Linked DNA regions of Homo sapiens: all the other regions are linked to region 2. The links are contacts of gene promoters, found by promoter capture Hi-C in human tissues and cell types (Jung and others, 2019). All regions are on one chromosome and are shown on one strand. The core of a region is centred on a gene start or on the middle of the fragment in contact, and the rest is flanking DNA. Distances in the headings are between cores, read along the strand shown.

The links. Contacts are between HindIII fragments. The study calls those that stand out against the background at their distance.
Region 1: a contact is called between a fragment that was not itself captured here and the fragment with the promoter of LBX1 in region 2, in 2 of the 25 tissues and cell types used here (hippocampus and liver).
Region 3: a fragment that was not itself captured here is called in contact with the fragment with the promoter of LBX1 in region 2 in 2 of the 25 tissues and cell types used here (hippocampus and lymphoblastoid cells).

What each region holds. Positions count from the first base shown.
Region 1 is chr10:101,379,680-101,382,794 of GRCh38, forward strand. All of the region lies in intron 1 of BTRC (beta-transducin repeat containing E3 ubiquitin protein ligase), which reads left to right. Among named protein-coding and RNA genes, the nearest start is that of BTRC, 27 kb to the left of the region's middle. The HindIII fragment of the contact is 7,585 bases long and covers 1-3,115 here.
Region 2 is chr10:101,228,117-101,231,316 of GRCh38, forward strand. It overlaps LBX1 (ladybird homeobox 1), which reads right to left and starts at 1,347. Exons shown (of 2, transcript NM_006562.5): 1 at 375-1,347. The coding sequence starts at 699. It overlaps LBX1-AS1 (LBX1 antisense RNA 1), which reads left to right and starts at 1,478. Exons shown (of 3, transcript NR_029380.1): 1 at 1,478-1,698. The HindIII fragment of the contact is 30,882 bases long and covers 1-3,200 here.
Region 3 is chr10:101,422,218-101,425,408 of GRCh38, forward strand. The region is part of intron 1 of BTRC (beta-transducin repeat containing E3 ubiquitin protein ligase); the gene reads left to right. Among named protein-coding and RNA genes, the nearest start is that of BTRC, 70 kb to the left of the region's middle. The HindIII fragment of the contact is 5,073 bases long and covers 1-3,191 here.

The sequences.
Region 1 (3,115 bases), core at 473-2,972, 150 kb after region 2:
TTTTTTTATGGCCTGTTACAGTCTCTGTAACAATCATTTCTTAAGTCTGAACGTTTTATTTCCAGGAATCCATTTATATAAAACTATGTTTAGACTTAATTAAGGAACGATTCTTACAAAGCTTGTAAATAGCCAGGAAAAAAGGGACAGAAAATAAAACTGACATTCACATTTAACAAAATGATTGTTACAAGGTATGTAATAAGCTATAAAAATACAATAAAGCCCTTTTTATAAGAGTTCATATTTTTTGATCCTTGTTTTCAAAGGTATTTAAGAAAAATATCAAAGCTTTGCAAAGTGACATCTGTTTGCTGAATGGACTAGTTATAACTTCTTTTGTTTATAACTGACAATACGAGAATTCTACCTGTTTTGTTAGTGTGTCTTCTTTGAAATACCTTGTAATTAGTTTAGATTGGTAGGTAAATTTTACGTTGTACCATAGTGAAAACAAGACCTGGTTTTCAGGTTCTGCTTCCTAGATGTCATAGATATTGGGCATGTTGCTTAACCTCCTTGAGTCTCACTTTCCTCATATAGAAAGCAAAGATAATATCTACTTTTGTACCTCAAAGAGCTGTTATGAGGAGTAAATGAAATTATTATAAATAGAGCAAATATTTTGGAAATTATAAAGGACTGTAAGCATCCAGATCATGTGTCTCTTAAAGATGAATTAGATTTAACAACCTCTTTTTTTTTTTTAATTAAAAAGTAAACTTTAATGTCAAAAATGCAAACTTGGGGAGGGCAGAAAGATCACACACAAGGCTGTGCCTTCACACTTGGAGGGTTGCACAGCAGCCGGGCAGAGGTACTCCTCACTTCCCAGACGGTGGGGCGGCTGGGCAGAGGCACTCCCCACTTCCCAGACAGGGCAGCGGCTATTAAGAACCTCTTTTAATTAGCAAACTTCCTTCTCTTGTTCATGCATTCTGTCAAGTACATACATGTACATCCTTTTTGAAATGACACTTATTTTTCCATTTCCTTGTCTAAGTATAAGTGATTGAAACCACTATTGGCATAGTGGAAATTACACAAGAATTGGAGTCAGAAGAACTGGTTTCAAGTCCTGTCTTAACTACAGTCATGCATTGCTTAACAATATGTGATACATTATGAGAAATACATTGTTAGGTGATTAAGTGGTTGTGTGAGCTTCACAGAGTGTACATAGACAAATCTAGATAGTATACCTTACTATACACAAATGCCATGTGATATAACCTGTTGCTTGTGCAGTTTGTTACTGTACACTGAATCCTGTAAGCCATTGTAACACAATGGTATTTGTATATCTAAACATAGAAAGGGTACGGTAAAAATACAGTGTTATAATTTTATGAGACCACTGTTGCATATCTGACCATACTTGACTGAAGTGTCAGGGGGTGCATGACTGTATTTTTACTTATTCTCTGACCTTATTCTTGGGTGGTGATAATAATAACAATAATAATGGCAGCCAACACTTGTAGCTCAGTATATACCGTGCAGGATTCTAGACACTATATATATTAACTCATTTGATCCTCTCATCTTATTAGGTGTGTATTATTATTATCATCCTGATTTACAAATGTGGAAACTGAGGCACAGACAGGTTGTTACTTTTTCCAGATCAAACAGTTTGTGAATGGCACAGCTGGTATTCCAGCTCAGACATTCTAGCTCCAGAGTGAGTGTGGTTAATCATTGTGCTATACTAACCATGTTCCTTAATTTCCTCTTCTCTAAAATGAGAATAACAATAACTGTTCTATCTACTGGGTTGAAGATCCAGTAAGAGAGTACACATAAAAGCACTTTGACATCACAGTGTACCATAAATAGAAGTTATATGTGAACTGTAGAATTAGCATGCACCTTAGAGTAGGTATTTTATAGTTTTTTGGTGGGTGAGGGATGTTATCTTTTGACTTATTTTTGAGAAATATAATTTTGAAGAGAGGTGTTGATGGTGTCATTCTTTTTTCAACTCCTCAGAAAAATTATGAGAAACACACGATGATAACTCATATATCCCTCACCTGAATTATCTAATTGTTAACATTTTGCCACATTTGACTTTTCCTAGTATATACTTTCTTTCTAAATTATTTGAGAGTTGCAGACATGATATTTTACCTTCTGCATGTATTTTCTAAGAACAAGAGCATCCTTATTCCTAACCTCAATACAAGATCCCACTCAGGAAATTTAACACTGATCACTGATAACCTTTTATTATTTAATATACAGTTCATATCCAGAACCCCTAGTTATCCTAAGAATGTCTTTTTTTTTTTTTTTTTTTTTTTTTTTTTTTTTTTTTTGAGATGGCGTCTTGCTCTGTTGCCTAGGCTGGAGTGCAGTGGCGTGATCTCAGCTCACTGCAACCTTCGCCTCCCAGGTTCAAGTGATTCTTCTGCCTCAGCTTCCTGAGTAGCTGTTATTACAGGCACCTGCCACCACGCCCGGTTAATTTTTGTATTTTTAGTAGAGATGGGGTTTCACCATGCTGGCCAGGCTGGTCTCGAACTCCCGACCTCAGGTGATCCACCTGCCTCAGCCTCCCAAAGTGCTGGGATTACAGGCATGAGCCACCGCGTCCGGCCCCTAAGAATGTCTTTTACAGCTCTTTAAAAAAAAATCCAGGATCCAATCATGTTATATATAATATCTCTTTAGTTTCCTTTAATTTACAGTAGTTCCCTAATGGTTTTTATTCATGAAATTGACATTTTTGAAGAGTTTGAGGTAGTTTTACAGAATGTCCCTCATTTGTTTTTGTCTGATTGTTTTTCCATGATTAGATCAGGGTAAAAAATTTGGCAGGAGTATAATATATGCTGTGTTTTTTTTTTCTTAGTGCACTACTACATCAGAAGGCATATAATGTCAGTTTGTTCCATTATTGGAGATATTGTTTGATCATTTATTAAGGTTGTATTCACTAGATTTCTCTGTTGTAAAGGTATATTTGTAAGTATTCAGAGGAGCAAACTTGGAGACTGTGTAAATATCTTATTTCACAACATTGTTTCACGCAGTAGTTTTACCATCCATTGGTGATTCTTCTGTGGTAGTTGTAAAATCAACCTATTTATTTTTAGGTAGTTCTAAATAA
Region 2 (3,200 bases), core at 97-2,596:
TCCCTTCCCAATCACTTCAACTCTACCCTACCCATAAGGTCCCCGGCAAAAGACTCTCGATTCCCCACGCCGAGTAGCCGGGCTAAGAGCGCCCAGGACACTGGGAACGCAAGGGAGCCCGGCAAAGCAAGCAGACTGCGGAAAGAGCTTGGCCACCCTTCTCCTGCCACCCCCCAGCTCTGGCCTACCCAGAGGTCCCTGGGAAATAAGGATTGGGTCCCGTCCCACATATCTTCACTCCCATAAGCAGCTGCTCAGGCTGGAAGGCCCTGGCGGCCGGAGAGGGCAGAGGCGAGCAGAGGCATAGGGGACGAAGCGCGCAGGGCACAGGGCGCGAGGCGCTGGGTGCAGGGGAACCCAGCAGCTGCGCCTACCTTCGGCTGCCTGCAGAACGCTGACCTCCAGCCCCTTAAACGTCTTGCTGGCGAGCTCCTCCAGCGCGCACAGCGGCGAGGTCTGCGAGAGCAGCGCGCGGCCCGCCAGGGGCAAGCCGCCCTGCGCGTGCTTGTCCGCGGCGGCCAGCAGGTGCGCCGCCCCGCACAGCGAGTAACTTCTCCGCACAGACGGCTTGTTGAGGATGTCCTCGATGCTGAACGGCGTCAGTGGCTTGTTGGAGTTGGCAGGCGGAGGCAGGTGGTCCAGCGGGCTGCGCCGCCGCTCCTCCCCCGGCGCCGCCTTGCCGTCCTCCTTGGAAGTCATCTCGGCCTTGTTCGGGGTCCCGGCCGGGGCGGCTCGGGCCGCGGGGACCCAGCCCGCGGGCAGCTCGGGCGCCGGACGGCGCGGGCAGGCAGCGGCGGGTGGAAAGGAGGCCGCACTGGGCAGGGCGCGGGCCGGGCGCGGGGCCGATTAGCGCGGCGGCTGAGGAGGGGAGAACAGCGCGGGGCCCCGGGAAGAGGGCGCTGACGCGGGCGCCGCTGCTGCTGGGGCTTCCAGCAATCCGGGGCCGGAGCCGGGGCGCGCTGCGCGGGGCTCCAGTTTCGCCAACCCCGGTGCTATTTAAAGGTGTCAGGTGGCTCGGCAGTGGCTCCTGGCCCCGGGTCCTGGCGGCCGCAGTTGGAAGAGCCGAGGCGAGGGCGCCGATCCCGGACTGCGAGGGAGGCGGAGAGACGGGGCAATTGACTATTGCTAACAAGTTAGCCTTGATCGCGGTGTAATCAATTATCTGCAGCGGCACTTCTTTCTCTTTCTCTCTCCTTTCTCCCTTTTTCCTCTCTTCTTTGCCTCTGTTCTCTCCTCCTGTTCTCGCTCTCCCTCCCTCCCTCTCTCTTCTCTCTTCTCTGCTCCCCCCTTCTCTCTCCTTCTCTCCCTCTCCCTCGCCCTCTCTTTCACTCTCTGTCTGTCCAATGCAGGCGGCTGTAAGTTGGGAAGCTCATTAATTAGCGGGCCGGGGGTAGGAGGAGCCGGCTGGAATTAGCCTGCCTAATGCGCCTGTCAGTCCGGGCGCTGCGCTGCGTTCGGCCCGAGCTGTTTGTAAATTACATTAGCTGCTCCTTTATTGCACCCGAACCTCGGGCGACTGAAAAGCCACCGCCCCCACCCCAAACTGCGAGCCGCGCTCCTGGCGCACCCGCCTCCCGCCGGCCTAGCTGCAATGACCGCACCGGCCCGAAGGTCTCGGTCTCTCCGACCCGGGATGTGGAGCCCGAAAGAGTGGTGGGAACCCCAGCCCGGGAGGGACGCGGCCGCCGCTCGGGCCAGGTAGGACCAGGAGCCCGGGTGGGCCCCGCTGCCACCCAGAGTGGACTTTGCGGAGCTGAGATCAAGAGCCCAGCGCCTCTACCTCTGACCCTCTTGCCCCTCACCCCACTGCCTGGGCGACGCGCCTGGGGAGAGGGAATCTGAAGCCCTCCTGCGCTGGCCCGCAGGAGGTCAGAGCCGGCTGCGCAGCCTTGGGTGGGCGACGCGGGAAGGGGGTGGAGGACCCCAGGGGTTGGGGGAGGGGGCTAGTCGGAGAGCTCAGCCTTCTCCACGCGGAGAGGCGGAGGAGGGAATTGTTGGCGGCTCTGGACGCCTCTCCCCGGCCTGATTCCGAAGCGGCCGCCCTACCTCCTCCGGCAATCTTGCTCACTTTCCTCCGGCAGCCGCTCCCCAGGCTGGCTGGGGCCACCAACGGCCTGATGATGGGCGTCTGAAGAGTAGCCAGGCCAGGTGCCGGGGCTAACGGGGCCGGCTCCGTGCCTCCCTGCTGCGCTCCGCCCGGGCCCCGGCCGGGGCCCCGCTGCCGGCCCCGCCTAGCCCAGCGCCCGGCTTGAGTGCATGGCCAGGCCGACTCCAGCTGTTCCGGATGCGGGGCGGGGGCCCGGCGGGAGCCAGGCCGCGGCTGGGGCTTTGCTCTCAGGAACTCGCAGGGAGGCCAGGCTTCCAGTTAGGCTGGGGCTAAAGACCTTAGGGCCCGGGATCTGTGAATATCGGGAGAACATGTTGTGTGCATTGTTACTTGAAGGTGTTTGTGTTTTTGAATGTGTGTTTGTGTGTGTTTCTCCATGCGTATATTTGTGTAAATGTGTGTGAACCTGTGGGTATATAGGTGTGTTTGAACTCAGCTATTTCTTTCATTTCCCTGAGGCATTCCAGCAGGGCTGTGCCCTCAGGCCTTCCTGTCTTGCTACCCCATTCTGTTTATGTGGGGCCACTGGCCTCCTTACTAATTTTCCATTTCTGCCCTTGGAGAAAGGAGGGGAGGACCTAGAGGGGGTTGGAGTCCAGGGAGAAGGGCTGTTCCCCTCCCACACACACACAGCCCTGGCCCTGGCTTTGTTTGTAAACTCCTGGGTGGGCGGTGAGGTTGGGCATTGGGCAGCACCGCTTGGACCAGAAAAGGGCCCAGAGAGGCCAAAGTGAGGATTTGTGGCCCAGGCCAAGGGTTGGAATGGGAAGATTAGGATTTCTTGCCCCCTCTCCCCTCATATCTAACCCCAGAGAGGGAGTGAGCTAAGCTGGGCTCCGGGGCGGGAAGCAGGTTCTTTCTCTGGATGCCTCAGCGTAGGGGGCCTCTGCACAGCAGAGATAGGTTTCATGATCTCACCTTCAGTTGTTTGTTTGGAATTGTGGCTGGCAGCTCTCTGGGGTAAAAAGGACAGTGTAGGGAGAAAGGGTTCTTGTTTGGTGCCCCAGTTCTGTGAATGTTGGGAAGAACCCCTACCCTCTAACTCATCTTTGTCCTGCATTTTCGGGGTGGCAGTAAGCGAGTGGGGGGAAGA
Region 3 (3,191 bases), core at 467-2,966, 190 kb after region 2:
CCAGTGATGATGAGCATTTTTTCATGTGTCTGTTGGCTGCATAAATGTCTTCTTCTGAGAAGTGTCTGTTCATATCCTTCACCCACTTGTTGATGGGGTTGTTTGTTTTTTTCTTGTAAATTTGTTTGAGTTCTTTGTAGATTCTGGATATTAGCCCTTTGTCAGAGGAGTAGATTGCAAAAATTTTCTTCCATTCTGTAGGTTGCCTGTTCACTCTGATGGTAGTTTCTTTTGCTGTGCAGCTCTTTAGTTTAATTAGATCCCATTTGTCAATTTTGGCTTTTGTTGCTATGGCTTTTGGTGTTTTAGACATGAAGTCCTTGCCCATGCCTATGTCCTGAATGGTATTGCCTAGGTTTTCTTCTAGGGTTTTTATGGTTTTAGGTCTAACATTTAAGTCTTTACTCCACCTTGAATTAATTTTTGTGTAAGGTGTAAGGAAGAGATCCAGTTTCAGCTTTCTATATATGGCTAGCCAGTTTTCCCAGCACCATTTATTAAATAGGGAATCCTTTCCCCATTTCTTGTTTTTGTCAGGTTTGTCAAAGATCAGATAGTTGTAGATGTGTGTTATTATTTCTGAGGGCTCTGTTCTGTTCCATTGGTCTATATCTCTGTTTTGGTACCAGTACCATGCCGTTTTGGTTACTGTTGCCTTGTAGTATAGTTTGAAGTCAGGTAGCATGATGCCTCCAGCTTTGTTCTTTTGGCTTAGGATTGACTTGGCAATGCGGGCTCTTTTTTGGTTCCATATGAACTTTAAAGTAGTTTTTTCCAATTCTGTGAAGAAAGTCATTGGTATTGATATTGATTCTTCCTATCCATGAGTTTTTTTTAATTAAGTTAAATTTTTTTTATTTTCCAGTTTTTCATAAAAATAGAGATGGGGTCTAGTTATGTTGACCAGGCTGGTCTTGAACTCCTGGTCTCAAGCAGTCCTCCCACCTTGGCCTCCCAAAGTGGTGGGATTATACACATGAGCCACCTTGCCTGACCCTCTCTGGGTCTTATTTACCTTACTAGTTTATTATACAGGTGAATGAATTGGGGAAGAGCTTGTTCCGCAATTCATTGCCAAACAATGAATTGTTAGACTGACAAAGCTAACTAACAAAGCTTGTTAGTTTGTTATACAGAGAATGTTATACAGATGCAGCTTGTTAGTTTGTTATACATATAGTAACAAGTGCTACAATAAAATTAAAGTCTGTGACTGAGCTTTTCTAAATATTTGAAAATTTACCTAAACTTATAGTAGCTGTTGTCTAATGCAATTTAGTACATTGTTAAATTTTTTCTTGTAGTTACTATTTGTTAGTAGTTTATCTCCTTGAAATAGAGTGTAAACTACTTGAGTCTGTGGATTTGTGGAGACAAACACATTTGAGTATTATTTCTGCCATTGTCATTTAGGCACTATAACTTCACTGAACTTGAGTGTACTCTCTTGTTAAGGCAAAAGTACTAATAATTCTTTGACAAGAAGGTAATGCTTAAATGAAATAATGTACTTAAGGGATCTAGTACAATGCCTGGCAGACAGTTTATTCCCGGTAAACTTTACTTATCCTCTTTTTGTACTCCACCTGTGCCCACTTTGGTAATGAAAAAATAAATGGCTTCCCAGAACAGTTTGAAATGCAAGTGGCATTCACAGAAGCCTATTCCTGGTGATGATGCCATTTATATTTTTTTCTTTTGCACTTTGCAGCTTTTAGAATCCTTATTTTAGCCGGGTGAGGTGGCTCGTGCCTGTAATCCCAGCACTTTGGGAGGCCAAGGCAGGTGGATCACCTGAGTTCAGGAGTTCGAGACCAGCCTGGCTAACATGGAGAAACCCTGCCTGTCTCTACCAAAAATACAAAAATTAGTCAGGCGTGGTGGTGCATGCCGGCAGTCCCAGCTACTCAGGAGGCTTAGTCAGGAAAATCACTTGAACCTGGGAGGCGGAGGTTGCAGTGAGCCGAGATCATGGCATTGCACTCCAACCTGGGCAACAAAAGTAAAACTCTGTCTCAAAGAAAAAAAAAGAATCCTTGTTTTAGTTTTACCACAACCTTGTGCAATAAGGCTGGGCAGATATGATTATCCTATCTGACAGGTGGGAGTTTTGTTTTTGGAGTGAACTAAATTGGGATTCTTAAGAGGCAATCATTGGATTTGTAGGTAAAGTCTGAATGTATTACATGATTATGGTATACTGCATTTCTCTGAATTTCTTAGTTGATATAGTAGTGAAAAGGGAATTCTTCTATTCCATGGCTTAAGGATACGTAAACTCTCAGTACAGCAATCTTTTTATTGTTGATTATTATAGCTTCTGTTACTCCTAGAAGTTGACCAACAGGGACCTTAATTTAGGAGATTTTGTCATTCAGCTTTCGTATAGTAAATGCTGAGGCTAGCCCTTTGCCTGCAGGGCTATCAGTGAAGAGGATCTGTGACATTACTCCAGACAGCCAAGTGTAGGGGGAAGAGTTGAGATTTTCAGTGTTCTCTGTGTAAATGAATTGTGCCATTGAACCTGATGGGCACTAGATACTATATTCTTCTTGAAGCACTGGAGGCCCTTCATTGCAATCTTGTTTTTTCAACTTTTATTTTAAAATTGGGGTATATGTGCAGGTTTGTTACAGAGATATACTGCACGATGCTGAGGTTTGGAGTCTGAGTGAATCTCACCCAGGTAGAGAGTGCAAAGTACCCATAGGTAGTTTTTTCAAGCTTTACCCCCTTTGTCCTCCCACCTTTTGTATTCCTCAGTGTCTGTTCCCTTCTTTATGTCCATGTGTACTCAAGGTTTTGTTCCTATGTATAAGTGAGAAAATGTGGCATTTGGTTTTCTGTTTCTGCATTAGTTCGCTTAGGATAATGGCTTCTAGCTGCATCCATGTTCTGCAGAGGACATGATTTCATTATTTTTTATGGCTACTTAGTATTCCATGGTATATGTGTACTGCATTTTCTTTATCCAGTCTTCCGTTGATGGGTACCTGGGTTGATTCTGTGTCTTTACTATCGCATTGCAGCATTTCAATTTTTTTTCTGATTCAGGTAGTAGAAAACATGTTCAGTCTTATTTTTTTCTGTGCTGTGTATGCTTTTTAAAGGCTAGTGAAGTCATTCAGTTGGATAACAACAATTATAATACATTGTTATACTCTTCAACTTTCTTTGATTTTGCAAAGGAG